Regions from separate parts of the Homo sapiens genome. Here regions 2, 3, 4, 5 and 6 are each linked to region 1. Evidence: promoter capture Hi-C in 16 types of primary human blood cells and fetal thymus (Javierre and others, 2016). All regions are on one chromosome and are shown on one strand. Each heading gives the region's core, a stretch centred on a gene start or on the middle of the fragment in contact. The rest is flanking DNA. Distances are from core to core; before and after follow the strand shown. Region 1 holds the start of PDZD2 (PDZ domain containing 2). Region 2 has its middle 54 kb from the start of GOLPH3. Region 3 overlaps PDZD2 (PDZ domain containing 2). Region 4 overlaps PDZD2 (PDZ domain containing 2). Region 5 overlaps PDZD2 (PDZ domain containing 2). Region 6 overlaps PDZD2 (PDZ domain containing 2).

The links. The method cuts DNA at HindIII sites, captures the fragments that hold promoters and counts their contacts. A CHiCAGO score of 5 or more calls a contact.
Region 2: a contact is called between a fragment that was not itself captured here and the fragment with the promoter of PDZD2 in region 1, in 5 of 17 cell types (total CD4 T cells, erythroblasts, naive CD4 T cells and 2 more). The highest score is 6.6, in total CD4 T cells.
Region 3: a contact is called between a fragment that was not itself captured here and the fragment with the promoter of PDZD2 in region 1, in 11 of 17 cell types (M1 macrophages, M2 macrophages, megakaryocytes and 8 more). The highest score is 7.2, in M1 macrophages.
Region 4: a contact is called between a fragment that was not itself captured here and the fragment with the promoter of PDZD2 in region 1, in 1 of 17 cell types (total CD4 T cells). The highest score is 5.7, in total CD4 T cells.
Region 5: a contact is called between a fragment that was not itself captured here and the fragment with the promoter of PDZD2 in region 1, in 3 of 17 cell types (total CD8 T cells, naive B cells and total B cells). The highest score is 6.4, in total CD8 T cells.
Region 6: a fragment that was not itself captured here is called in contact with the fragment with the promoter of PDZD2 in region 1 in 1 of 17 cell types (M2 macrophages); the score reaches 5.3 in M2 macrophages.

Annotation. Positions count from the first base shown.
Region 1 is chr5:31,636,195-31,641,103 of GRCh38, reverse strand. It overlaps PDZD2 (PDZ domain containing 2), which reads right to left and starts at 1,973. Exons shown (of 25, transcript NM_178140.4): 1 at 1,667-1,973. RefSeq lists a silencer at 1,670-2,019. The HindIII fragment of the contact is 6,072 bases long and covers 1-3,921 here.
Region 2 is chr5:32,117,726-32,122,634 of GRCh38, reverse strand. No RefSeq gene overlaps it. Among named protein-coding and RNA genes, the nearest start is that of GOLPH3, 54 kb to the left of the region's middle. The HindIII fragment of the contact is 1,072 bases long and covers 1,409-2,480 here.
Region 3 is chr5:32,061,992-32,066,900 of GRCh38, reverse strand. The region is part of intron 14 of PDZD2 (PDZ domain containing 2); the gene reads right to left. Among named protein-coding and RNA genes, the nearest start is that of GOLPH3, 110 kb to the left of the region's middle. The HindIII fragment of the contact is 7,208 bases long and covers 1-4,909 here.
Region 4 is chr5:32,031,430-32,036,338 of GRCh38, reverse strand. All of the region lies in intron 6 of PDZD2 (PDZ domain containing 2), which reads right to left. Among named protein-coding and RNA genes, the nearest start is that of MIR4279, 98 kb to the right of the region's middle. The HindIII fragment of the contact is 3,645 bases long and covers 587-4,231 here.
Region 5 is chr5:32,006,342-32,011,250 of GRCh38, reverse strand. It overlaps PDZD2 (PDZ domain containing 2), which reads right to left. Exons shown (of 25, transcript NM_178140.4): 6 at 769-921. Among named protein-coding and RNA genes, the nearest start is that of MIR4279, 73 kb to the right of the region's middle. The HindIII fragment of the contact is 6,764 bases long and covers 1-4,909 here.
Region 6 is chr5:31,906,128-31,911,036 of GRCh38, reverse strand. The region is part of intron 2 of PDZD2 (PDZ domain containing 2); the gene reads right to left. It also overlaps the pseudogene TPT1P5. Among named protein-coding and RNA genes, the nearest start is that of MIR4279, 28 kb to the left of the region's middle. The HindIII fragment of the contact is 4,461 bases long and covers 1-4,089 here.

The sequences.
Region 1 (4,909 bases), core at 724-3,223:
ACAGGTATTCCAAAAATAAAATGATTGAAATGAACAGAGAAATTATCATAAGTTTCCTTAAATAGTAAACTGCCATAAAGTACATGCAAAATCAATTTCAGCGATAGATTTAAAGTATAATTCAATATTTTTCCAGGAGCATATTAACTATGTCAAGGTAGGTACATTTATATACTTTACATGGTTCTGATTTTTCCTCTCCTAGCACCTGCCACCCCCCTACTCCTACACCTAACCCCCGCAACACACACACTCACTCACACAACTAGGTGGTTATTATAGGAGCAGAAGCTCTGGGCCCATCCTAATGGAAGAAGGAATTCATGAAGCCAGAACCACCACCTACAGCCAGGGGTGTGTTCTGAGACATTCTCTTCTGCCCCCACAAGCAGCACTCCCACTTCACACCTGCCAACCTGTACCTATCTGGCCACCACCCAGAAGTCACAACCCACAAAAGCTGGCCCAGTAGAGATGCCAGGCCCCTAAAGCCCTCCAGTGTTCAGAGACCCCACTGGAGAACAGGCCCTGAAGGTCCAGGGGGTCTCTCTGCAAGGACAGATCAGGGCATCACTTACTGCAGCCACTCAGCAACCACTTCCAGTAGTTTCATTGCGATTTGTCAAGGCAAACATATCCACCTACCCTACCTTTGGTGGAGGCAAGAGGTTAGGCCAGCTGCAGGGGACAGACTCAGACTCAGCTCCATCCCCCAACACTGCCCAACGGCCAGTCCCAGGGCAGGTCTGGAGCTCTGGAATGCCCTCGTGCCTGCCATTCCAGTCTCTGCGACCAGCCCATGCCAGACCTTGTCCTCTTCCCACTCCAGTGTCCCTTATCAAGGTCTCTGCATAGATTTGGGCTGCCGAGGACAGCTTCTGGCAAACTCCTGCCAGGGGTCCTGGACCCTCCTGCTGCTGAATTCAGCCTTGCGCTTTAATGGATTTTCCAAATAGCGGGGACCACAGGCAGCTCAAAGACTTAAAACACAAACGCAAACCCGAGGGAGGGAGAGAGGAACAGAGGGAGGGAGAAACCAGATTTTAGGAGAAACTCGACTTCAGAGAGAGAGCAGGATTTCCCTATCACTATGTTCCCCATCTCCCCGGCAGACGCCAATAACCGGCCCTAAGATGCCCTTGATCTTTGCGCGCCCCCTGCATTCCCTCGCCCCGCGTCTAACGTCTCATCTGGGCAAAGAGGCGGGGGTTGAGAGATGAAACAAGCCCGAGGGAGGATGGTCCCCAAGACATTACCTGAGGCCGGAGTACCTGAGTACCTCCACTCCTGTCGGAGGAAGGGACCAGAAGACGGCCCAGGGATGGGGACCCGGGATGCGCGCCCGAGCAGGAGGTCCCGGCCCTGTCTTGAGTACCCCCGGCAGTGCGTCTCCGGTTGTCCCGCTGTCTCGGTCCCGCTCTGTCTAGCCCCCTCCCCTGGGCTGCGCCCTCCCCGTCCCCGGCCGGATGCTAGAGGAGTTTGCGCCGCCCAACGTGGGACCCCGGTTCGGCGTCCTCACTCCCCGCCCTGCCAGGGCTGGGATTCCCGCACCCGGATTTGTAGCTAAACTTTCCTGGGCACACACGGTCTCGGGGGTGCCGGGCCTCCCCCATCCCCTGCCCACCCGGAGCCGCGCGTCCCGGCTGCAGCGGGACGGTCGCTTCACCTGCTCGCGGCTTGGCCGAGGCTCCCGCGGCTTCCTCGCGCGTCCAGACCCAGGCGCCGCCCGGCGGGTCCCCGCGCAGCTGCCGCCACCGCGGCCACCACCGGTGCCGCCGCCGCGCCTGCCCCGAGCTGCAGAGCCGCGGTTCGCCGGCAGCCGCGGGAGGCGCAATCCCGGTGCCTTGGGTTCGGCCTGCGGCTCCTCGGCTGCCTGCAGCCGCCGCCCCGCCGCGTCCCGCTGCCCGGGGCCGGCACGCACCGGCGCTGGGGTCCGCTCCTCGCCTCGCTGCGCAGGGGATCCGCCGAGCCTCCAGGATGGGCGGGGATTCCCTCCCCCTGGTTGATTCGAGGGGCGGGAACTCCCTTCCCCGAGTGACAGGGACGGGGGGCGGGGATTCCCCTGCAGGAATAACAAGGTGGGCGGGGATTTCCCCGAGCGAGCCCCGCCGCGGGCAAGGCGTCTCTCTGGGTGAGCCAGGAGTCCTGGTGCGCCCGCTTCAGAAACCTGGGGATCGTGGGAGGAAGGCATCCAGGGAGATGGCTGCTCCGAATCTCCATACAGGCGGGGCTTAGGGCGCCATCTAGGTGGAACAGAGCGAGCTAGGGGACGTGAAGTTGCCTCTGCATAGCACTTTACACAGCAAAGAGAAAAATGTCAGTTACCTTATCAAAGAATGGGGCGGAGGGGCCACAGGAGATGGGGGAAGAGCTAACCACTCACCCCAAGCTACCCTTAGCCTCTGGTCCTTGGGATACCAAAGGTAATTTAGCACTGGTACGAGGATTTCGGGGAGAGGGGACCTCTTGGCACCTCAGAGCTGCTTAATCCCCCAGTTAAGCCCCTGGGGGGGAATCCCATGGCCCTGGGGTGGTGGTTTTGGTCCCATGAGCACTAGCCACGAGCTCCTGCCGAGTGGACTGTGAGAGCTAATGCCAGCCGCCCTTGGCTCCCGTCCAGGTCACTCGAGGAACCGAGCCTCAGGCTTTTGGGATCCTTCATTCCGGTGGATTTTCAGGAAGGCCTTCAAATATTTTTGGTTCTTTTTTTGTCATCCTTGTCATTCTGCCTACCAAAGGGAGAGGATGATAAGAACATAATAGGAAGACTGCACAGCTCTGCAAATTAAGCTCTCTTAAGAGGAAAAAGCTGGTCTTTTTCAAGTGCTGGCAGATAAGAGTAAAAACATATGAAAAATTGCAAAACCTGGGATAATGAATAGTTGAATAATGCTTTTGACATTTTCTACAGAACAGTAATTGGAAATCTTTGCTTTCGGGGGGATGGGGATGGGACAGGGCAGGCCCCAGCTGCAGTTCTGCCCAGCAAGGCAATAAACTCTGGCCTCTCCGAAAAGCAGGCAGACATAAATCACCTGCGCAGACCGGACAGCGCTGTCCCACCACACCAGAGACCAGAGTGGGCCCAAGGCATTTGGAGGTGGTATTGTCCTCAGGGGCTGGGGTGGAGAAGTTCTTGATTTCAGCTGTTCTTCAGCTTTTATAATTACCAGGCCATTGAGATCAATGCTTGCACAAATCCAAGCATCGTATATGACAAGCTGGGCACTCAGGCACTCAGAGCTTCTCTTCCTATGTGTAAATAGAGAAAACACCTACCATGCAGGATTGCTGGAACTAGCAGTAACACAGCTATTCAGCACAGCACTTAGGAGGTGCTCAATGAAATGGTAACCATTATCAATGAAAGGTATCATTGGGACACTACAAAAAAATCCTTCTAGAAGGATCAAACAGGGCTGGTGCTTTCTGTTTTTTCCACAATCCCAGGCCCATCTTCCACCACTCTGTCCCGTGTTTTCTCAGCCTCTGTACCCAGCACATACCTTGGGCCTACCTCCCTCAGCACCAATGAAAAGTTTGCTGAATCAATGAATATGCAAATAAATGTATCACTCAAACTGTAGTCACTGCTATTTCTTATCCACTCCATCCCCAACTCTTTCATTCCAGCCATGTACTCCTAATCTGTAAATTCTGTTTCCTCTGCCAGAGTGACATTCTCACTCTCCTGTGTCTGCTGAAATCCCAAGGAGGTAAATGTCATCTCTACTGGAAAGGCTTCTCTGATCATCAGAACAAACATCACGTTTCCTCTGCCTTGTTAATTGCTGCAATGGTAGCACTTTATGCAAATTGCTCATCTAACCCTTGTCAGGTGTATTATGTTGTAGGAATTATGGCGTTTTGTCTCACATATTTCTAGCTTGTGAGTTCTTGGAGGTAAGAGAACTTAAAGCTTATTGTTTGTGTTCCCAAAGCCTAGGGTGGCATGGTGTCCGACCCAATAGCCACTCAATAAATATTTGCTGAATTAAAATGAATTGTTAGGTATATACATGTATGTTATATGTGGCATATATTATGTATAAATACAATATATACAGATGTATTTTATAATCTGTCTCCTTCAGACATGGCCCTGCTGACCTGCTTTAAATACTTCGTTTCAATCACTTTTCAGCTGATATTTTCCAGATATTTTTGGCAAGTTCTTATCTGCTAATAATAGCTCAATTCACAGAGGTCAATCAAATGCATGGAAATTTTGTTTTGCCCTTGCAGTCTTGTCAATTTGGAAAGCTGACAACTGAGGGCATTTATTTTCCAATGTTTGAAGATCAAAATGTAAATCCTTTTTGCCCCCTTGTTAAACATTTAGTCACAGATTAGTATTTCTATCAAAGTTGCCATTTTAATTTAGTGCTCATAATATATGTGATGTGGAGGAGGAGGAGGCTGTATATAGAATATCTAAGACTTCAGAGCAAAGGAAGATTAAAATGATAAACAAAGAAAAAATGTGTGATCCCAAGCTATATCAGTGACAGAATGTAGCGTGGTTTAGGTGAGTCCAAGTAGATTCTCATGGATTGCAGTGCCATGTGGTTTACTTCTGAGCTTTCTCCCTCTATGAAGAAAAATCTACAGACCAGGCAGCTGAAACTAAAACTGGAGGTTTGCTTACCAACTCTTGAAAAGACTGCTTTCCATCTTTCCGCCTCAGCTGCTCTTCCAAGTAAATTTCAAGGGAGGAGAAGTAGCCTTAGTCAACAACTGGCTCAATTCCCTTTCTCCTCCCAGCCTCTGTGGGTTCATTTTATCTCCAAAACAGATTCTAGCTTCCTGTTTACCTAGCGAATTACCCTTTTTTCTTTCTTCCACAAATTCCTGGCCACTAACTCTTCCATTCATGACCTCACGCTAGAACGAGCCATCTCCTGGCCAA
Region 2 (4,909 bases), core at 695-3,194, 480 kb before region 1:
GCTTTGTTGTATAGCTTAGTTAAATCTCCCATTAATGGACATTTAGATGATTCTCATATTTTACATTATTACACTATTGTAGCATACTTTTTTATGTCTTTATTTCTCATTTCTCTAGAAGGATTTAATAGAAATGGATTTGCTCAAATAATATACCTTGAAAATGTAAAAGATAAAGCCAAATTGATTTCTAAGCTTTATGGTAACTTACACTTCTGACAGTAAGGTGAATGCTGGTTTTCCTATACCCTAGCCAATACTGCAGAGCAGTGGTCGCCAACCTTTTTGGCATCAGGGACCAGTTTTGTGGCAGACAGTTTTTCCATGGACCTGGGGTTTGGGGGGTGGTTTCAGGATGAAACTGTTCCACCTCAGATCATCAAGCATTAGTTAGATTAGGTGCACAATAGGGTTCGAGTTCCTATGAGAATCTAATGTGGCTGCTGATCTGACAGGAGGTGGAGCTCAGGTGGTATTGCTCGCTTGCCTGCTGCTCACCTTCTGCTGTGTGGCTTGGTTCTTAACAGACCACCATTACTGGTCCGTGGCCTGGGGGTTGGGGACCCCTCTGTGGAGGATATCATCACTCCTAGTCTATGTTCATTATTGAGGGGTTATCATTTACTGCCTTTTGGTAATTTGTATTTTTCCTGTGAATTACCTGTTCGTGTTCTTTATTCATTTTTCTGAAGGGCATTGATCTTTTTATGTACTGATTCACGAGGACTTAAGCCTATGATGCAGTTGTTTTCCCAGTCTTGGGAGCTGGCAGATGGTAAGTTTTGCTTTTGCTTTCTTTAACATTCAGAAAAGTGTAAGGTGCAGTGCTTGAGCATGCAATTTGTGGAGATCCTTCTTCTAAAGAGATGTCTGGTGGTCAGATTTGATATATATTAACTTTGGGAGGGTATGATCAAATTTAAAAATGGAAAAAGTCGAAATGTCTAGGTTAAGAATATGTATATAAGCATTTCATTAAAAGTTTTTATGATTAAAATATAAATGGAAAATCTCAAATATTTACATTAATTAATTTAAGGCACCCATGTTTACAGCCATTACCCAGGTCAGGAGATAGAACCTTGCCAGCTATACCCTGAAGCTGTTCAAGTCTTTCTCCCAATTACAGTCTTCATAAGAGTAAGTACTGTCCTGACCCAGTGTGAATCTTTAATTGTATTGTTTTGTTTCATTTGATATGTCTTTTAAGTTTTTTTTGAATCTGTAGGTTCTTCCCCCATCTCTCTCTTGTTTTTCCTTTGCAAAATATTTGTTGATGAAATTGGATCATTTGTCCTGCAGAGTTTTCCAAGGTTTGGATTTTGTTGATGGTTTCCACAAGGTGTGATTTAAGGTGTTTGACTTCTACACTGCATTTCCCAAGAATTGGTAATTGGCTCTAGAAGCTTAGATTCAGGTTTGTTTGTGTAGGCAACACTAATCAGTGGTGGTGTATGCTTCCACCAGGAGGCACATAATGTCTCATATTTTCCTTTTGTGATGTTAGCAGCCTTGCTTTTCAATTCTTATTTATTGGGGTTGCAATGTGATATTTTAATAATTCTTTTTTTTTTTTTTTTTTTGAGATGGAATCTCGCTCTGTTGCCCAGGCTGGAGTGCAGTGGCCCGATCTCAGCTCACTGCAAGCTCTGCCTCCCTGCCTCCCAGATTCACGCCATTCTCCTGCCTCAGCCTCCCGAGTAGCTGGGACTACAGGTGCCTGCCACCATGCCCGGCTAATTTTTTGGTATTTTTAGTAGAGATGGGGTTTCACCATGTTAGGATGGTCTCGATCTCCTGACCTTGTGATCTGCCCGCCTCGGCCTCCCAAAATGCTGGGATTACTGGGATTACAGGCGTGAGCCACCGCACCCGGCAATTATTTCTTTTTCTTTTTTTTTTGAGTCAGAGTCTCACTGTGTCGCCCAGATTGGAGTGCAGTGGCGTGATCTCTGGCTCAATACAACCTCCGCCTCCTGGGTTCAAGCAATTCTTATGCCTCAGCCTCCCGAGTAGCTGGGATTACGGGCGCCTGCCACCATGCCCGGTTATTTTTCTATTTTTGTGTTTTTAGTAGAGACAGGGTTTCACCATATTGGCCAGGCTGGTCTCAAACTCCTGACCTTGTGATCCTCCTGCCTCAGCCTCCCAAAGTGCTGGGATTACAGGCTTGAGCCACGGCGCCTGGCCCTCATTATTATTTTTTTTTTTTAGCTAGAATATTTCTATAAAGAGACGTGTTATCTACATTACGTTTTACTATAATTCATAGAGGGAAGGTAGAATAATTCTTACAGTTTATTTACCTATTTTCAAAATACAGCTGATTCCATGGCACCCTCCAAAAATAACTTTAATTTTTAAAGTATTATGAACTTATGGAAACACATTCTGTTTAAATTGACAAATAATAATTGTGTATATTTATGGGTATAATGTAATGTTTTAGTCTTTGTACACATTGGAGATTCAGTCAAGCTTATTAAAATAACCATCACCTTACCAACTTATATTTTTGTGGTAAGAATACTAAAAATAGTCCTTTTTAGCAATTTTGAAACACAATACATTATTAACTGTTGTCACCATGCAATGCAATAGATCACTAAAACTTGATTCCTCTAGTCTGAGACTTTGTATCCTTTGAACAACGTTTGTTTCCCTATCTCTCCCCTTCCCGTCAGTTTCTAGTAACCATTTTTCTACTCTTTTTCTATGAGATTGGCTTTTTTAGATTACACATATAAGCGAGATCTTTTTTTTTTTGTCTTTTTTGTGCCTTATTTCACTTAGTGTAATGGAATAATCATTCTTTTATGTGTTTTGGTCTACAGTTATTAGCCCTATTAATGCTCAAAATGCCCTATCTTTGGCCAGTGGAACTCTCTTCAAGGATCTGGAGTCCTTTTGATAGTTTTAGTAGTCTTTGATAACTTCCTGGTATGGCTCAGATGTTTCAGGTTCATTTTGTATATTTCCTACCCTGTATCTGGAATCATCTATTTTTCCAACAAGCCATGTTTCTTTTAGCATGAAATGGTACTTCGAGACCGTAATTTGGGCTTTCAGAATACTTGTTACTACTGCCTTGGTCATTGCTTCTGGGGGAAAATCTTATGTGTGTTTGTGTGGTGTATGTATGTGTTTATGAAAAGTACCTCACAGAGTTTCAGTGCGGGAAGTTAAAGTGGCAGGGATGGGGCTGGGTGTGGTGGCTTACGCCTGTAATCCCAGCACTTTGGGAGGCCGAGGTGAGTGGATCACCTCAGGTCAGGAGTTCAAGACCAGCCTGACCAACGTGGTAAAACCCCATCTCTACTGAAAATACAAAAATTAGCCGGGTGTGGTGGTGGGTGCCTGTAATTCCAGCTACTTGGAAGGCTGAGGCAGGAGAATTGCTAGAACCCGGGAGGTGGAGGTTGCAGTGAGCTGACATTGCACCATTGCGCTCTAGCCTGGGTGACAGGGCAAGACTCCGTCTCAAAAAACAAACAAAAAGTTGCAGGGATGGATGGTGGTGATTACACAATGTCAGTAGACTTAATGTCACTGAACTGTGTACTTAAAAAATGGTTAAGATGGGCCGTGCGCAGTGGCTCATGCCTGTAATCCCAGCACTTTGAGAGGTTGAGGCGGGTGGATCACAAAGTCAGCAGTTCAAGACCAGCCTGGCCAAGATGGTGAAACCCCGTCTCTACTAAAAATACAAAAATTAGCTGGGCATGGTGGCGGGTGCCTGTAATCCCAGCTACTCGGGAGGCTGAGGCAGAGAATTGCTTGAACCTGGGAGGCAGAGGTTGCAGTGAGCCGAGATTGCGCCACTGCACTCCAGCCTGGGTGACAGAGCAAGACTATCTTAAAAAAAAAAAAAGTTAAGATGGTAAACTCCATGTATATTTTGCCACAATAAAAAATGAAAAATAAAGTGCCTTATGATTTTACATTGACAATTCAGATGGAAATGTATTTATTTATTTTTTTGAGAACAAGATCTCACTCTGTTGCCCAGGCTAGAGTGCAGTGGCCTGATCATGGCTCGTTGCAGTCTCAAACTCCTGGGCTCAAGTGATCCTCCTGCCTCAGCCTCCCAAGTAGCTAGGACTACAAGCATGTGACACCATGCGTGGCTAATTTTTAAATTTTTTGTAGAGATTGAGTCTCACTATATTGCCCAGGCTGTTCTTGAACTCCTGGCCTCAAGTGATCCTCCTGTCTTAGCTTCCCAAAGTGCCGGGATTTTAGGTGTGAGCCACCCCACTCAACCCTCAGATTCAAATTTACAATTTATAGGGTTTTTCTGTCTTCTACTTTTCTATATCAAGAATGATGGAAATTACTGACAATAAAATATCACATAGTTATTCATTTGCTTCCACATAAGACATTCTCAAAATAATAGTATTAGCACTATACCAACAATTTGATTACTTAAAAATGAGTTTTTAATAAGACTTTTTTATATGCTTGCTCCGTTCACCTCCGCCACCACCCTTTTTGTAGTTGGGCTACATCTACATTGTAAGAACATGTAGTCATTATATACTTTAATCTTTTCCTTTTAACCCTTCCTTTAGTCTCAGCTCTTCAGGTAAATACCTATTTAGTGCTCATCACCATTCCCAGTGTCACTGCCTGGCCATCATTTTGATTGCCTTGCTCATTTGTTGTTGGATTCTTCAGAAAGGGTTTGTGAGAATAATAGTCCTGAATTTTTGTATGCTGATGGCAGTTTATCTGCAGCCTTTTATTTGAAAGTCAGTATGTCTGGATAAAATTCTTTTTTTTTGAGTTGGGAGTCTCACTCTGTCGCCCAGGCTGGAGTGCAGTGGCGCGATCTCGGCTCACTGCAACCTCTGCCTCCCAGGTTCAAGCGATTCCCCCGCCTCAGCCTCTAAGTAGCTGGGATTAC
Region 3 (4,909 bases), core at 1,381-3,880, 430 kb before region 1:
GACGACCATTTTATTGTGGCTAGAAACATGGATGAACCTGTATGGTCAATGGCATGGCGGCCACCAGATATGATGCTTTGCGCTGAAATGCCATTTGGATGTTTGATTGTATTGGCAAAATAGGCAGGAGTTTTGGAGCTGAGATGAACTAGACCTCTGAACAAATCATGACCCATGTTATGCTGTTATTTTGAAGTCAGACATGCCTTGAAGCCAATGACTGCAAACCACTGAAAACTCAGTTTTCTGTAACATTGCTGACGGATGAATTAGGGCAGCCAGAGGTTACTGGACTGCTTCCCGAGGTGAAAGGAGGTGATGTGGGTGGTAGACTCCAACGGGAGATTCTGGAGGAAGGAGCTGAGAACTGCTTTAGATGCAACCTTCAGGCAAAGAGAGCCAGCAGTGAAACAAAAGAGAACAGATTTTAAGTGAAGATGTCAGAACCACAGAATAGAAAGGAGAAAAATGGGAGGTGACAAGGAGGAAAAAACAGAAAAAGGTGGAAGCAGGACTTGGTTGGTTTGATTGGATTGAGTGACTGATTGATTGACTTGAGATAGAGTCTCGCTCTGTTGCCCAGGCTGGAGTGCAGTGGCGTGATCTTAGCTTACTGCAACCTCTACCTCCCAGGTTCAAGCAATTCTCCTGCCTCAGCCTCCCGAGTAGCTGGGATTATAGGCATGTACCACCACACCTGACAATTTTTTTTGTATTTTTAGTAGAGATGGGGTTTCACCATGTTGGTCTGGGTGGTCTCGAATTCCTGACCTCAAATGATCCACCTGCCTTGGCCTTGCAAAGTGCTCGGATTACACATGTGAGCTACTGCGCCCAGCTGGTACTTGGATTGATTGATTGATTGATTGATTGATTTAGACCAAGTCTTGCTTTTGTCCCCCAGGCTGGAGTGTGATGGTGCGATCTCGGCTCACTGCAACCTCCGCCTCCCAGGTTCAAGCGATTCTCCTGCCTCGGCCCCGAGTAGCTGGGATTACAGGCGCCTGCCACCACGCCCAGCTAATTTTTATATTTTTAGTAGAGACAGGGTTTTACCCATGTTGGCCAGACTGGTCTAGAACTCCTGATCGCAGGCGATCCACCCGCCTTGGCCTCCCAAAGTGCTGGGATTACAGGCGTGAGCCACAGAGCCCGGCCTGGTTTTATATTATTTATTCAAAAAACTCTGGATGCAAGACCTTTCTGAGGATGCATATAGGGAACACAATCTGAAGAAAAGCAGAGTTGCCTTTGCATTAGTCTAACGGCAATTTTGTCCCAGCACTGTTGTTGACATCACATCCCCAGATCAAGACATAGAGCCATAGCTTGATAGCACTAATTTATCCTGGGGAGGACAAGGACCACAAATGAACATCACTGAGTGTCTAAATTGATGCCACCAAGAAATCTCGGATATGGCACATAGAGGGACCCACAAGGTCTCTTGGCATAGACTTCTTACTCTTAAAGTGGTGTACCAGTCCATCAAGCACAGTAGCCTGGGAACATTTAGGATGTAATTAAGCAACACTACAAGGAATACCAAGGTATGCCCATATGACAGGCATGGGTAAGAAGTATTTTTTTTGTTTGTTTTTTGAGACAAAGTCTCGCTGTGTGGCCCAGGCTGGAGTGCAGTGGCACAATCTTGGCTCACTGCAACCTCCACCTCGCAGGTACAAGTGATTTCTCCTTCCTCAGCACTGGAGTAGCTAGGATTACAGGTATGCACCACTACACTGGCTAATTTTTGTATTATTGGTAGATACAGGGTTTTGCCATGTTGGCCAGGCTGGTCTCGAACTCCTGACCTCAAGTGATCTGCCCACCTCGGCCTCCTAAAGTGCTAGGATTACAGGCATGAGCCACTGCACCCGGCCAAGAGGTAATATTCTTAATGAACACTTTGATTTTATTTCTTTACTTTTTTGAGACAAAGTCTTGCTCTGTCACCCAGGCTGGTGTGCAGTGGCACGATCCTGGCTCACTGCAACCTCCATCTCCTGGGTTCAAGTGATTCTCGTGCCACAGCCTCCTGAGTACCTGGGATTACAGGCAGCCGCCAGCACACCCGGCTAATTTTTGTATTTTTAGTAGAGACGTGGTTTTGCTATGTTGGCCAGGCTGGTCTCAAACTCCTGACCTCAAGTGATCCACCCACCTTGGCCTCCCAAAGTGCTAGGACTACAGATGTGAGCGACCGCACCCGCCCTTAGTGAACATTTTGAGTTGCTGAAAGGAAAAGCTAAATTTTCTTAAATACAACTTAACCACAACATTAGAGGTAAGCTAATTTAAAAAGACTTTTACAACAAGCGCTCAAAAGAATAAAAAATAGTGTTAAAAGTGGATTGAGGCCGGGCGTGGTGGCTCATGCTAGTAATCCCAGCACTTTGGGAGGCCAAGGCAGGTGGATCACTTGAGGTTAGGAGTTCGAGACCAGCCTAGCCAACATGGTGAAACCCCATCTCTACTAAAAATACAAAAGATTAGTTGAGCGTGGCAGCGCCCGCCTATAATCCCAGCTACTCGGGAGGCTGAGGCAGGAGAATCACTTGAACCTGGGAGGCAGAGGTTGCTGTGAGCTGAGACTGCACCACTGCACTCCAGCCTGGGCAACTGAGAGAGACTTTGTCTCAAAAAAGAGAAAAAAAAAAAAGTGAATTGAGTTGGTTCCTTCTTTTCCTCTGTGCGTCCAAAAACAAACAAAAAAAAATTGGGTTGAGTTGAGCTTGCTGAAGTGTCCTATGGTTAGCTTCAAAAAGTTAAAGGCAACTGTACAAGTATAGAAGAGATATAACCAAATAACAGCCAAGTCCAACAATGTAGGGACCATGATTATCTGCAACTTCCGTATGGGTCCAAGAGTGTGACGCTGATGCTGAGAAAAAAATTAGTGGGCTCTTAGGCCTTAATTACAGAAGTACTCTGCTCAGGTCAAGGTTGGCTTAGACAGAGGAGGAGCCACTCTTTAAATTGGGTCTTGTCTTTCATCAGTCTAACAACAGTAACATCCTCACACTCTAACAAAATGCTTAACATTCTTGGGGTCATGAATGACTGAGAATTTGATAGAAGCTATTGATTCCGTCCACAATTGCAAATCTATTCCCACATTTGTGTAGTTCGTAATGTCCTGGTAAAGGTCCCGTGAACTTCAGGTTCAGAGTAGGCTGCAAGTTTCTTGAGATACATTCTAATTAATTGTGTATCCCTGGTATGTTGGCACTGCCTGGCACCCAGTAGAAGCTCAATAAATGTTTAGGTAATGAATTTGATATAGGATGAGAATAGATGATCTGAATCGCCCTGGCTGGAGGGAGACAGGGAAGGATAGTCCGTCTGTTGATGCCTGGCAGCCTGCCTGCCTGCTTCACAACCTCCACACCCATCCCAATTCACCCCCAGGGCCTCCTTGGTGCCTCTGCCTCCTGTTCAATACCAGGTTCACATGGGCTGGTGGTACCCAGGCTAAGCAGCTAACATTAGACCTGAAGGATCTTCTCTCTTTCCTTCCAAGTAAAACTTGTAAGTAAGAAAGAGTCATTTAATAAATCATTCTCAGACCGGGCGTGGTGGCTCACATCTATAATCCCATCATCCAGTGGGAGGATCACTTGAGGTCAGGAGTTTGAGACCAGCCTGGCCAACATGGTGAAACCCCGTCTCTACTAAAAATGCAAAAATTAGCTGGGCATGGTGGCGCATGCCTGTAATCCCACCTACTCAGAAGGCTGAGGCGGGAGAATCACTTGAACCCAGGAGGCAGAGGTTGCAGTGAGCCGAGATCACGAAACTGCACCCCAGCCCGGGCTATAGAGCTAGACTCCGTCTCAAATAATAATAATAATAATAATAATAATAATAATATTTCATTCTCAACAGAAGACTATATGGGTATCTTTACAATGATAAAATGTAAGGAGCTGCAGTGACATACTATGTCCGTTGGCTCAAGGCCCCATGTGGTTCCTCTGGTCTCCCGTGGAGCCATCTGTATTAGATAAACCAAAGAAAGAACTCCCACTTTCAGAATGTGTCGTTAGAGGAACAAGCAAAACCAGTATTGGAAAATGTGAATGCACGTTAAATGTCATGGTCAGGAGAATTTCAATACATATTTATGCTGCTTAGGTAGATTACAGAACAATTGTGTGAGTAGTTAATGAAAAGGATCCTGGCATGAATTTAAAAATTTAGTCTTGGCCGGGCACGGTGGCTCGTGCCTATAATTCCAGCACTTTGGGAGGCCAAGGTGTGTGGATGCCTTGAGCTCAGGAGTTCGAGACCAGCCTGGGCAACATGGTGAAACCCCATCTCTACCAAAAATGTAAAAATTAGCCAGGTGTATTGGCACGCACCCATGGTCCCAGCTACTCTGGAGGCTGAGGTGGGAGGATCGCTGGAACCCGGGAAGTCGAGGTTGCAGTGAGCCATGATTGTGCCATTGCACTCCAGCCTGGGTGACAGAGGGAGACCCTGTCTCAAAAAAAAAAAAAAAAAATTTAGTCTTGAGGACTTGATCTATCAGAAAAATAGTATCCTTCATAATTTTGCATAAACTTAACAAATAACTTTTCCATTATAGTTTATTTGAAATGCTGGGCTTTATTTTTTCCCCAACTTTGATGGAAGCAAAATCTACAAAGTAACATTTGCAAATAAGCATTTGGTCTGCAAAGCCAGATTTCATCTTATTTTCATTTATTTGAATTTCAAGATAATCATTTGATAAGATAAACAGGTATTTTTCTGACTCAACAGTTAAATGAACATTAAGAAGGAAACATTCCTCCACAAATGTGAAGACATTTATTTGTCCTTTAAAAGTATCTAACGTGGGGCATGGTGGCTCACACCTTTAATCCCAGCCCGAAGTGGATTGATTGCTTGAGCCCAGGAGTTT
Region 4 (4,909 bases), core at 1,160-3,659, 390 kb before region 1:
GTCTTATATTAAAATAGGTAATATTCTCACTAAGTAAGATATACATACTTAAAAAGGCATATAAGGTATCAAGTAAAGAAAGGTTGATGAGGCCGGGTGCAGTGGCTCATGCCCGGAGGCAGAGGTGGGCGGATCACGAGGTCAGGAGATCGAGACCATCCTGGCTAATGGCTAAAACAGTGAAACCCCGTCTCTACTAAAAATACAAAAAATTAGCCGGGTGTGAAATTAGCCGGGCATGGTGGCGGGTGCCTGTAGTCCCAGCTACTCGAGAGGCTGAGGCAGGAGAACTGATTGAACTCGTGAGGCAGACGTTGCAGTGAGCCGAGATCACGCTACTGCACTCCAGCCTGGGCGACAGAGCGAGACTCTGTCTCAAAACAAACAAACAAACAAAACAAAACAAAACAAAGGTTGATGATGAAAAGATTCCTGGCTTCTCTTAAAGATGCCATTCAGCCTGACAGTTGTCTGGAGTTCATGACTATGAAGTTAAACTCAACTGGCAGGAATCTTCCTCCCAATTGGGGTTGGGAGAAATCAACCTGGTCCTACTTAAAGTGCTTTTTGTATGTATTCAAAAGCTTCTTGATTTGCATTTTCTCTTACCAGTTATCAAAAGGTGATGTAATTATAGTGTCACTTCTCACCCTCAAATTAACAGGTAATGAAAATTATATGTTGTATATTAAATTCAGTATATAGCTGGGTACAGTGGCGGGTGCCTGTAGTCCCAGCTATTCAGGAGGGTGAGACAGGAGGATCACTTGAGCCCAGGAGGTCAACATCAGCAGCCTGGGCAACATCGCAAGACCCTTTCTTTCTCTTAAAAAAAAATTCACCTGAGGTCAGGAGTTCAAGACCAGCCTAGCCAACATGGTGAAACCCTGTCTTTACTAAAAATACAAAAACTAGCTGGGTGTGGTAGCACACACCTGTAATCCCAGCTACTTGGGAGGCTAAGGCTGGAGAATCACTTGAACCTGGGAGGCGCAGGTTGCAGTGAGCCGAGATCACGCCACTGCACTCCATCCTAGGTGACAGAGCTAGACTCCATCTCAAAAAAGAAAAAAAAAAATTCAATACATAAAAACGTATAAAGTAAGCAGTTAGAGTAATTACGTAGGTAATCTCTTTTAAGAAATAATTGTTTATATACAAATTCTGTATACAATATGTAAAGTTTGGAAGATTCCCTCTTCCTCCTCAAGTTCAAGTATCTTTCTGGGTTAGAAACAGGAATAAAAAGGTCTGAGAATGAGGAAACGTAGGCAAAATTGAGAAAGGGGCATTGAGAAAACAAATTAATTCTGACATACAAAACAAAGGTAATAAATCTGTTGCATTCATATTACCTTATCAGGAACTGGCAGGTGTTCAGGTTTAAATTGTGAAGAAAAAGCAGGAACAGAATCTTGAGGGTGATTTTAGAGATTCCCTGGAGGGATGTCTTTCCCAACCCCAAATCCTGACATCAATATGTACACAGAGAAGAAAGAGCCATCTCTGAGACATCCTGAGCTCTGGGCCACATACAAATGGAAGAATCTAGAGAAAAGCCTTAGAGCCTCCCCTTTGCTTGACTTAAAAACTTTATGCAAAGAACCTGTCTCCAGGTTCTTTCCATACTGTCTCCAGACTGTGAACAGCAATTACCAGAGAGTGAGTTAAATTCCTGGTTCCAGCTGGGCGTGATGGCTCACGTCTGTAATCACTTTGGGAAGCGGAGACGGGTGGATCACTTGAGGCCAGGAGTTCAAGACCAGCCCGGCCAACATGGTGAAACCCCACTTCTACAAAGAATACAAAAATTAGCTGTGCATAGTGGCACGTGCCTGTATAATCCCAGCTACTCTGAAGGCTAAGGCACAAGAATAGCTCGAGCCTGGGAGGCAGAGGTTCCAGCGAGCTGAGATTGCGCCACTGCACTCCAGCCTGGGTGACAGAGCGAGACTCTGTGTCAAAAAAAAAAAAAAAAAAAAAATTCCTGGTTCCTTCTGATAATACCACCTGACCCAGGCTATCGACCTTCAGAGTAAGGGATTCCCTGGCTTGTAAGACATTACCGCCTTTGGTGCCTACTAAATGGGTAGCTTATTACACAGTGGCCAAGGTCCCAAACGTTGGAAAGTCTGTCTGAGATGCTCATGCCGAGCAAGGAAAACCATGCCAGCCTATTGTTTCTGGACTTAGGAAGTTTTCTGCATCTGTCTTCTCCTTTATTTTCCCAACACAGCCCCAGGTTTTCATAGGATCAGAGACATTTTGGAGATGATACAAGCACTTCTGAGCACCTGAGAAGGAAAGGAGCCTGCCTGAAAGGTTTCTGGTCATGATAGACAGATTCAGTTTCTATGATCTACAAAATGCCAGTAGGTTTTTTATGTCAAAGAAATCTTATGCTAAAGATGGTATATGTGAGCCAGACGTGGTGGTTCACACCTGTAATCCCAGCACTCTGGAAGGCCGAGGTGGGCAGATTTCTTGAGGCCAGGAGTTCAAGACCAGCCTGGCCAACATGGCGAAACCCCATCTCTACTAAAATACAAAAATTAGCCGGGTGTGGTGGTGAGTGCCTGTAGTCCAAGCTACTTGGGAGGCTGAGGAAGGAGGATTGCTTGAAACCAGGAGGCAGAGGTTGCAGTGAGCCGAGATCGCGCCACTGCATTCCAGCCTGGGCAAAAGAGCGAGGCTCTGTCTCAAAAAAAAAAAAAAGAGAGATGGTGTATGTGGCTACCTAATGCCTGTAGCTAGAGCCAGTAAGAATGGACCTAGAGATATCTCAAAGAGTTGCAAGCAGAGAGCTCTTGCTGTTGAGCAAGGAAGGAGTGACATCTTATTTCAGAACCCACTGAAAGGGTTAGCAGTGGGGAATGAATTTAAATGGAACTGTTTCCTCTTATAACAAAAAACTGTTTTTTCGTTGAGTTTGTTGTGATATTAGACGACTTGTAACTCACTGAACAGGAAGTGGGTTGCTTAGACACATTCATTCCAGATTATGTCAGGAAGTAGCAATATAAAATGCAATTTTGATTACACTTTGACTATTGTCTGAAAATGTCCACACTCTAAGAGAGTCCCTTTTCTGTGTGTGGTTTTGTTCCCAATGCACAGAGCAAACTGTTCTGGAAATGATGTCATTTTAGCTGTTCTGAAACGAAATTTGCAAAATGTTCTCCTGGAAGGCCTTCAGTTCAGCGAAACAGTTGATAAAATCTATTATTCATGAGCAGTTTCTAATTCATGTGTTACAAAACAATGCCATTATTGCTTCTCGGCCTCTTGGCTAACATCAAGTGTAGTACAAAACAATCCCATTATATTAATGGAGTCTCATAGAATTTGCCAATTTCCATGGTAGAGCCTTCCTGTTTGCATCATTTTCCACACCTGTAACATACACAGCACTCAATGAAGAAGCATCTTTAGCATCTGATTTTGTAGAGAGGTAGTGGGGCAGAGTGGTTGAGAATCCGGCCAGCTACCTGGGCACAAATCCTGATTATACCATTTTACTGCAGTTTAGGCACGTCAGTCAACCTCTTTGAACGTCAGTGTCCTCATCTGAAAAATGGGCCTGCATTTGGGAATTAAATAACATAGGTTTCTGACTAAAGGTGGCAGATTTCTCCTGATTTCCCTTTGAAACCACACTAACATGACAGGGAAAATTTTTTTTAGGAAAAGACAGACATAATTTACAAGGATAAAGAAAACAGAAGACAAAAGCAACAAATTCTGGAAACCAGCAAGCTGACAACCACGTGGCAATGGATCTGACTTGAGAAAGCTGAATCCTAAGTGTGGACTGGAGAAGGCTGAACGTTCACACAGAGAACTCCCCCAAAGCTCAGAAGTTGCCAGAAGAGGACCTCTGGAAGTGGGCATGAAGGCGGAAGCAGTGGCCCAAGGAACGACCGAGAGAGTGAAAGTGACCGACGTGGCCACTGATTTACACAGGTCTGATTCCGAGGCAGATTCTCAGGGGCTGAGAATGGCCTAGGGAAACTTTGAGGTGCATCAGAATCAGCAGGAAAGCTAACAAAGAACACAGAGACCAGGCTCATGGAAGAGGAACAGGGCCTGGGCCTCTGGAATTCACCACTGCCCTGGGCCAACAGAACCAGCCTCCAGTGGAACTGGACACGGAACTAAGCTGCGACTTCCCAGTTCTTCCTGCTCTCCCCCACGTTTACTTCAGAAATGAAGAAGAGAAGAAATGAAAGCTTCTCAGCTGTACCTGAGTAGCCCACCAGCCAACAAATAAGGGTGACTGTCATGTTGCTCCCTATTCAGAGTATACATATTTTAATCAGTGATTTATGGAAACTTGTTCTGCTCAATGTATAAACTATAAGCACAGGAGGTGTATGCAGAGTATAATGCAATTTACATGTGCCATAGGCAGCAGCACGGATTGTGCCTGTAACATATTGATCATTGATATCCAAGGCAGTTTTTTCATTATGTGAAATAGGAACAATCGTATTTATGTTTAAAGAGTTAAAAATACCTTGCAATTGTCTTACAGGGTTATCATGAGGGTTAAAAAGAAATTCACTGTGGAGTACCTAATGTGTATCATAAGAATATAGGTAAGGTTTAGTCGAAATTAAAGAAATAAAAAGGCCCAAGCTTTCTCCCCCCAGGTCTCAGGGTGCCTCCAGATTTGATGATTACATAGACTGTAGCTCTAGACTGCAGAGATATACATTTCAACTTCATACCTATGGAAAGTGGCAGATTTCATTAAAGAATAAAGAGAAACCAATGGAGATCCAAAGACATGCCATCTTCTTTGAAGATGGGGAAAAAAGCCCTTTAATAAAATTACTGCAAAACTCACAGCTAAGAAGCCATTTTTAAAGGCATGTGCCTGAAATGCTCAGTTTTTAGAAATCAGGTT
Region 5 (4,909 bases), core at 1,476-3,975, 370 kb before region 1:
TCCCAAGGTGCTGGGGTTACAGGCATGAGCCACAGCACCTAGCCTTTTTGTGTTATTTTAACATTCCACTTTGAACCAGAAATCTCTCCATCCAAGTTTAAATTCACTAATAGTAGTTGTCAAACACACCAGCAAGGCATAGCAGCAAAATCCTTGTATATATTATAAAGCATTCTAGAAATTAATATATGCACTGAACTCAATATCCAGTTGTTGTTGTTGTTGTTGTTTTTTTTTTTTTTGAGAGGTTTTTGGAGAGGGAGTCTCGCTCTGTAGCCCAGGCTTGAGTGCAGTGGCGAGATCTCAGCTCACTGCAACCTCTGCCTCCTGGGCTCAAGACGATTCTCTTGCCTCAGCCTCCTGAGTAGCTGGAATTACAGGCATGCACCACCATGCCTGGCTAATTTTTGTATTTTTAGTAGAGACTAGGTTTCATCATGTTGGCCAGGCTGGTCTTGAACTCCTGACCTCAGGTGATCCACCTGCCTCAGCCTCCAAAAGTGCTGGCATTACAGGTGTAAGCCACTGTGCCCAGCCCCCTGGGTTGCTTATCTTGTTTACCATTTCATTTTTTTTCCTTAAAGGAAAAATATCACCCTCACAGATTTTTCTCAGAGATTCCGAGAAAAACATAGAAAGAATGCACTGGTGTCTTTTCCCATCATGGTCTCTATCATACTATCTCAAGCATTTATCCCCTAATCCTGGCGCCCAGGACTTCAGAAAAAAGTAATTCCAACAGAAAGCCAGGAGCACAGAGCCACTTACTGCTCTCTGGACAGAAGAGCTGGTTCCTTCGTCCTCTTCCCCGTCTGCCTCCTGGTCTTCGTTATCAGTCCAGGAGGACACATCTTCTACCGAGCTGGTCAGATCTGGCAAGCTCTTAGATGTTAACCTGAGGAGGTCCTCTGCGGAGTTTTCCTATGGGGACACAATTAAAGGCCCATCCATGAATTACTCCCCAGAACCAAGCAGTTCTTGAAGGCAACCTGGCACAGTCAAGCTACATGCTCCCAAACCAAAGACTACATGGAGTAAATGTTCTGTGTCTGCAAGGTTACCTCAAAGGCCAGGGGTGTGGACCCAATTTAAACCCAAATCCATTTTTTCCCCACAGAGAATGTATGATTCTTAGCTGTTTCTTTTTTTTCTTTTTTCTTTTTTTTGAGACAGTCTTGCTCTGTTGCCCAGGCTGGAGTGCAGTGGCGTGATCTCGGCTCATTGCAACCTCCGCCTCCCGGGTTCAAGTGATTCTCCTGCATCAGCCTCCCAAGTAGCTGGGAATACAGGCATGAGCCACCACACCTGGCATTGTATTTTTAATAGAGATGGGGTTTCACCGTGTTGGTCAGGCTGGTCTCGAACTGCTGACCTCAAGTGATCTACCTGCCTCAGCCTCCCAAAATGCTGGGATTACAGGCGTGAGCCACCACACCCAGCCTTTAGCTCAGTGTTTCTATGGGCAATCCAAGCTCCCTGAATTTAAGATCCCTTTATAAAACAATCATTTTTTTTTTTAATAGACAAGGTCTCATTCTGTCACCCAGGCTGAGTGCAGTGGTGCAATCATAGCTCACTGCAACCTCAAACCTCTGGGCTCAAGTGGCCCTCCTGCCTCAGCCTCATGAGTAGCTGGAAGTACAGGGCATGCACCACCATGCCTGGCTAATTAAAATTTTTTATTTTGTAGACACAAGGTCTCACTATGTTGCCCAGGCTGGTCTCGAACTCCTGGGCTCAAGCCATTCTCCTGCTGTGGCTTCCCAAAGTGCTGGGATTACAGGAGTGAGTCACCGCACCTGGCCCAAGATCCTCTGCTGGCCTCCCCTGGACTGCTTTCAGGATGCTGTCTAAAGAGGTCAGCATCTTTTTTTTATTGATTTTTTAATTTTAATTTTTATTTTTTTGAGACAAGAGTCTCGCTCTGTTGCCCAGGCTGGAGTGCAGTGGCACAATCTCAGCTCACCACAACCTCCACCTCCCCAGTTCAAGCGATTCTCCCACCTCAACTCCCAAGTAGCTGAGACTACAGGCACACGCCACCATGCCTGGCTAATTTTTGTATTTTCAGTAGAGACGGGGTTTTCACTATGTTGGCCAGGCTGGTCTCGAACCCCTGACCTCGTGATCTGCCTGCCTTGGCTTCCCAAAGTGCTGAGATTACAGGCATGAGCCACCGAGCCCGGCTAGATCAGTATCTTTTAGAGCTGCTTCTGCCCCACTCTCCAAACTCATCCCCCTCCTCCTGTCTCCCCACCAACCCACTCTGATGCCATACTGCCTTCCAAACCCTTTGGACTCTTCCTTGCCCACTGCCTTTTCCGCCAGCAGCTCCCTCTGCTGGGACCACCCTTCCTTTCACGACTGAGGCCCACGCGGGCAAGGCTTGAACACCTCTCCTTCCGAAAGCCCACCTGGGTCATCTCAGGAGCCACTCCATTTGCCTCTCCTTTCTTCTCTAAAGTCTTTGACTACTGCTTTCATCCCCTTGCAGTGTGTCTACTTGTATATCTCCCCTGCGTGTCTGAGAATTGCTCCCACCTAACACCATTTCCATTCACTGCTGTGTCCCCAGGCCTAGCCCAGAGCTCACATATCCATGATCTCCTCCTTCCTGCTCCTGTGCTCATTTCCCTAGCATATGCTCATTAGAAAGAGATTCAACTGGCTGGGCGCAGTGGCTCATGCCTGTAATCCTAGCACTTGGGAGGCCGAGGCGGGTGGATCACCTGAGGTCAGGAGTTCAAGACCAGCCTGGCCAACATGGTGAAACCCCATCCGTCTCTACTAAAAATACAAAAATTAGCCAGGTGTGGTGGGCGGGCAACTGTAATCCCAGCTACTTGGGGGACTGAGGCACAAGAATCCCTCGAACCCGGAAGGCGGAAGTTGCAGTCAGCTGAGACTGTAGCCTGGGCAACAACAGCAAAACTCCATCTCCAAAAAAAAGAAAAAAAAAAAAAAAAGAAACAAAAGAGATTAGATTGTTGAATCAAAATGTCAGATAAGGTCTTTTTCAATGAAGGCAGTCCTTGAACAACTTTTAAAGGTCAACAAAAATACATGGAATAAGACTCCATTTATTTATTTATTTATTTATTTATTTATTTATTTTTATTATTTTATAGAGATGGGGTCTCGCTATGTTGACCAGGCTGGTCTCGAACTCCTGGCCTCAAGTAGTCCTCCCATCTCAGCCTCCCGAAGTGTTGGGATTACAGGCATGAGGGACCGCGCCCGGCCCAGACTCCATTTGGATAAGATTCTGAAGGGGCATCGCCAACACACAGCCCTTTGATCTTATGTACAGGTTAAGGCTAGAGTAGGCTGTAAGACGCAGGTGAGATCATGAAGGCCTTGCTGCAAATGCGGACCACACAGGAGCCAGAGCCCTCCGGGGAAATGCCGCAGCACATGAGGGCCAGGGGCCAGGGAGGGGGCTGGGGCTCTAGAGCGAATCCATGGCTCTAGAAAGAGAGCAAGAAGAGCTACCTGTTCTCTCAGTCCTTTGCGTTGGCCATTTCCACAAGGAAGGAAACACACAGAACGTCTTAATCATATTTAATCACATTGCGTGAGGGTTAACAGAAAAGAGGACCAAAAAATAAATGAATGAAACCCATCTTAAACAATGGATGTTACTGAATATTAGCAAGCTGGCATCTAGCGACAGTGATGTTTGTTACTAGTTTCACGTTGGTTCCACCTTCAAAGTACCTGAAGATAATTTGAATCAGTAATTGTGAATCCTATATTGTTAGGCCTTATCTAAGGAAAGGGAAAAAAAAGTGAGTTCAGTCCTCTTCTGTGATGTCAATTCTACTTCTGCTAGATTAACCGAAAAGAGTGTTTTTTTTTTTTTTTTAAATCCCAACTGTGAAGTAAAGGCATAGCAGATACAGGATAGACTACTCTGCGACCATTAAAGATGGTGCTGGGGCTGGGTGTAGTGGCTCATACCCGTAATCCCAGCACTTTGGGAGGCTGTGGCGGGTGGATCAGTTGAGGCCAAGAGGTTAAGACCAGCATGGCAGGCCGGGCGCGGTGGCTCAAGCCTGTAATCCCAGCACTTTGGGAGGCCAAAGCGGGTGGATCACGAGGTCAGGAGATTGAGACCATCCTAGCTAACACAGTGAAACCCCGTCTCTACTAAAAAATACAAAAAAAATTAGCCGGGCGTGGTGGCGGGCGCCTGTAGTCCCTGCTACTCAGGAGGCTGAGGCAGGAGAATGGCGTAAGCCTGGGAGGCGGAGCTTGTAGTGAGCTGAGATGGCGCCACTGCACTCCAGCCTGGGAGACAGAGCGAGACTCCGTCTCAAAAAAAAAAAAAAAAAAAAAAAAAAGACCAGCATGGCTAACATAGTGAAATCCCGTCTCTACTAAAAATATAAACATTAGCCAGATGCGGTGGCACGTGCCTATGGTCCCAGCCACTCAGGAGGCTGAGGCAGAAGAATAGCTTGAACCTAGGAGGCGGAGGTCGCAGTGAGCCAAGATTGTACCACCGCACTGCAGTCTGGGTGACAGAGCGAGACTCTGTCTCAGGAAAAAAAAAAAAAAAAAAAAAAAGGTGTTGAGCCTGGCAGTGGTTCATGCCTGTAATCCCATTACCTTGGGAGTCCTAGGTAGGCAGATCGCTTGAGGGCAGGAGTTTGAGACCAGCCTGAGCAACACAGAGAGAGATTGCCTCTACAAAAAATTGTTTAAATCTGTCTCAAACAAACGAACAGTAGCCATGTATGGTGGCACGTGTCTGTAGTCCCAGTTACTTGGGATGCTAAGATGGGAGGATCACTTGAGCCTCAGGTTTCAGGCTGCAGAGAGCTATATGATTACACCACTCAATTCCAGCCTGGGCAAAAATGCAAGTCCCTGTCTCAAAAAAAAAAAAAAAAAATTGTACTTCCTA
Region 6 (4,909 bases), core at 610-3,109, 270 kb before region 1:
ATTTGGATGACAAATTACTATTGGGAGAAGACACAATTATCTCATATCAATGGGAATTTTAGATGCTTAAACAGAACTGGTTTAAAATAAAGGGGGGAAATCAATTTAATATTAAATTTAAAAATTATGCCTAGGGGAGATAATCTCACCATTTTAAGTGCTATATTTTCTTGTAGCAGAGTAGCATGGCGGTTAAAAGCAGGAACTGGCTGGGCGTGGTGGCTCATGCCTGTAATCCCGGCACTTTGGGAGCCTGAGGCAGATGGATAGCTTGAGGTCAGGAGTTCGAGACCAGCCTGGCCAACATGGTGAAACCCTGTCTCTACTAAAAATACAAAAAAAAAAAGGCTGGGTGTGGTAGCTCATGCTTGTAATCCCAACACTTTGGGAGGCCGAGGTGGGTGAATCACGAGGTCAGGAGTCCGAGACTAGCCTGGCCAACATGGTGAAACCCCATCTCTACTAAAAATACAAAAAAATTAGTTTGGGGTAGTGGTGAGTGCCTGTAATCCCAGTTACTCAGGAGGCTGAGGCAAGAGAATCGCTTGAACCCAGGAGGCGGAATTTGCGCAACTGCACTCCAGCCCAGTTGACAGAGTGAGACTCTGTCTCAAAAAAAAAAAAAAGAAAGGAAAAGAAAAAATAAAAATTAGCCAGGCATGGTGGTGGGGCATCTGTAATCCCAGATGCTTGGGAGGCTGAGTCATGAGAATCGCTTGAACCTAGGAGGCAGAGGTTGCAGTGAGGCCAGGTCACACCATTGTACTCCAGCCTGGGCGACAGAGCAAGACTAAGTCTCCAAAAAAAAAAAAAAAAAAATGCAGGAACTCTGGAGCTCCACAGCTGGGTTTGAATCTTGACTCTGCCTTTCATGAACTATGTGACTTTGAGCGCATAGGTAAGTTATTTGACCTTTCTGAACCTTAGTTCCCTGAATAAAGTGAGATAAGGTATCAATCTCACAGATTTCTCTGCATAAACGAGTTAATACATGTAAGGCACCGATGACAGTATTTGGCACGTAGTAAACGCATCCATAAACGTAAGCTATTTTCAATTATAGGATGAAGGGATGAAGGTATGGAGGAACTGTGGCAGGGTTATATGAATACTTGTGGTCTTGGATAAAATGTCCAGTGACAGCACCGTACATGAATATAAATATTACAGTCTTTCAAATAATAAAGATGGAACGCAATACACCCTTAAAACTGACTCAGCTGACTCAAAATTTGGCTCTGATTATTTGAATAAATTTGCTTCATAAACTATATGAGTGGGAAAAGGAATATTCAAAATTAATGTCATTTAAATTTTAAATGTGATTTTAATTATATATGTGAATATTAGAGCTATACATGACTATTTCATGTATATCACTGTATTATTAGTAGTAAACTGAATTGTTATCCTTTTAGTATACTAAATATAGTATTTCGTGTATATTAATGTTGGCCAAAAACCTTTTTGTAGCTCTTGTTTATTATGTATGGGGTTTATATTCTACTGTATGCGGTAAAAGAAAATGTTCTTCTCTTTTTTTAATCAGCGTAGAAAATTCAAACTGTTATCAAAAAGCATCTTAACCACATGTCCCTGCTCCCCAAATTAATGCCCTTATGATCTCTTTTGCTTAGATTTGTTGAGTTTAAATGCATTTTATTTTTAGACAAACTACATGACGTGCTTTTCTTAAAACAATGCCTCCATTCCAAATAAAGCATGGTCGAAATAAATGAAGAGCTCAAGATGACATCATTCCCATTTTCTTAAGTCCTGTTGTTGTGTGGATGACAAGCTGCAGTCAGTTACGATGACAGGTGATACATCCAAAGCAACTGCCAAATTTGTTAACATTTTCCCATTTCTAAATCATCCTCAAAGAAAATCACATATGGAGTCACACCATCCTTCCAGTAGTCCAGTAAAGCAACCATGCCACCTGGATTCATGGTTTCCCCAATACAGAAAGAACTGGTAGCTTTTTGTTTGTTTTGAGACAGAGTCTTGCTCTGTTACCCAGGCTGGAGTGCAGTAATCTCAGCTCATTGCAGCCTCCGCCTCCCGGGTTCAGCAATTCTCCCACCTCAGCCTCCCAAGTAGCTGGGATTACAGGTGTGCACCAACCACAGCCAGCTAATTTTCTGTATTTTTGGTAGGGACAGGGTCTCACTATGTTGCCAAGGCTGGTCTCAAACTCCTGAGCTCAAGTGATCCTCCCGCCTCAGCCTCCCAAAGTGCTGGGATTATAGGCGTGAGCCACCACGCCCGGCCAGAACTGGTCGTTTTTGAAATTACTAAGGATGTGCTTGACATGATTGCAAGGGGCTCTGCAGCCCCTGTCATAAAAGGTTTTACTCTTTCTGGTCTCTGTTCTTCAAGTTTGTCTTTGATATCACGTAACCTTTGATGTATTTCTTGTAGGCTTCTCTGGTGAAGCTAGTTTCCTGAAAGTGATGGTTCATGACAGTATCAACACCAGCCATTACTGTGCTTTCCGTGCCCTCGCCCTCGGGGCCTTCAGCGGAGGCATTTCCACCAATGAGCGAGTCATCAGTGTTACCCTCTCTCCTACAGACCATCTTCGCCTCCACTTCCACGCACAGCCAGTCTGAGATCTCCCGGATCTCGTGAACACACCTGATCATGGCTGACAAGGTCCCAGTAGATAATCATGATGGCGGCCGATGGCAGCTAAAGGGAGACGACCAGTGGCGCTGCCTTCTAGGAGCCCGGAGCTTGGAGCTGCGCTCATGGGGAGCGGGGGCGGGGCCTTGCTTAAATTTCAAACAAAAAAAGGATCAAACCAAAAATAAAAGAAAATAGAGGGAAATGTAGACTATCTTTGTGCATTTTAAATATACATAAAATCTCCAACATGGATAAAGATGTTATTCGATTCTATTTACTACCTGATCCTTTTCTTTCTTTTTTTTTTTTTTTTTTTTTTTTTTGAGACGGAGCCTGGCTCTGTCACCCAGGCTAGAGTGCAATGGCAGGATCTCGGCTCACTGAAGCCTCCGCCTCCCGGGTTCAAGCAATTCTCCTGCCTCGGCCTCCTGAGTAGCTGGGATTACAGGCATCCACCACCATGCCTGGCTAATTTTTGTATTTTTAGTAAAGACGGGGTTTCACCATATTGGCCAGGCTGGTCTCGAACTCCTGACTTCGTAATCTGCCCGCCTCAGCCTCCCACAGTGCTGGGATTACAGGCATAAGCCACCGGGCCCAGCCACCTGATCCTTTTCTTATGCCTTCATTTAATTGGGAGATCCTTTTCTTATGCCTTCACGTAACTGGGAGTGGGGGGTGGGGATTAAGGAATAAAATCCAACTAAAATAGCAAGACTTTCTTCATAAGGCATGAAACATTAAACATATAAAATATTGTATTTCACAGTGTCCTCTCTCATCTGTATTTCATGGGAAATAGATGGATGAATTCAGCCTGATAATCCACTACATGTAGCTATTAGTGGGTCTCTTGAAGGAAAGGCACAATAACCCAGATGGGTGTATTAACCAGAGCTTTTATGTCATTTATGACTAATACTATGAACTGTGTCCCCTCTCAAAATACACATGTTAGAGCCCTAATCCCCAATGTGATAAGGGCTTCGGGAGGTAATTAGGTTTCAGTGAGGTCAAGGAAGGGACCCCATGAAGGGATTAGTACCCTTATAAGAAGAGATGCCAGACAGCTTGCTTCCTTGCTTTCCCTGCCATGTGAAGACACAGTGAGAAGACAGCCATCTACAACCCAGGAAGAGAGCCCTCACCAGAAACCAACCATGCTGCTGGTACTTTCGTCTTTCCAGCCTCCAGAACTGTGAGAAAATAAATGTCTATCATTTCAGCCATGCAGTATTTTATCATGGCACCCTGCACAAAGACAGGTAAGGAGTATGGCCACTTAAAACATTAAGAAGTCATCATAACCAAACTGTCAACAAAACAATCATCCACTATAACAAGACAAATCCCTTTGTGTTGATCTTTTTCTCAGTTCTCAATTATCAGCTTGGGCTAACCAAGCATTCTACCCAGAATTAGATGGATAATACAACTTTCAAAGTTTAGACATAAGCTTTAATCTAATTCTTATTGGATATGAGCCCATCCAAAGGTGGAAAATATGTTCAAATATTCTATTCTAGATATTGTAAGTAGTCTCTTTTGTTTTTTCTTTTTTTTGAGACAGAGTCTTGCTCTGTTGCCCAGGCTGGAGTGCAGTGGCACACTTTTGGCCCACTGGAACTTCCGCCTGCTGGGTTCAAGCTATTCTCCTGCCTTATCCTCCCAACCAGCTGGGACTACAGGCACGTGCCACCATGCCCGGCTAATTTTTGTATTTTTAGTAGAGACGGGGTTTCACCATGTTGGCCAGGCAGGTCTGGAACTCCTGACCTCAGATGATCTGCCCGCCTCAGCTTCCCAAAGTGTGAGGATTACAGGGGTGAGCCACTGCACCCGGCTATAAATAGTCTCTTAATAGATTTCCTACATCATTGATAAAAACCAAACTAAGGCCGCGCATGGTGGCTGACACCTGTAATCCTCACACTATGGGAGGCTGAGACGGGCTGATTGCTTGAGCCCAGGAGTTCAAGACTAGTCTGGGTAACATGGCGAAACCCCGTCTCTACCAAAAATACAAAAACTGAGGTGGGAGGATCACCTGAGCCTGGGGAGGTCAGGGTTACCACTGCACTCCAGCCTCTGCAACAGGGTGAGACCCCATCTCAAAAACAACAACAACAACAACAACAAAATCAGCGAACATTTGGACATCGGTAACATGAAGTATATTTTACTTGTGTGGTATCTCAGTTAAAATTACTTCAATTTCAGGCCAGGTGTGGTGGCACGCACCTGTAGTCCCAGCTACTCGGGAGGCTGAGGCGGGAGA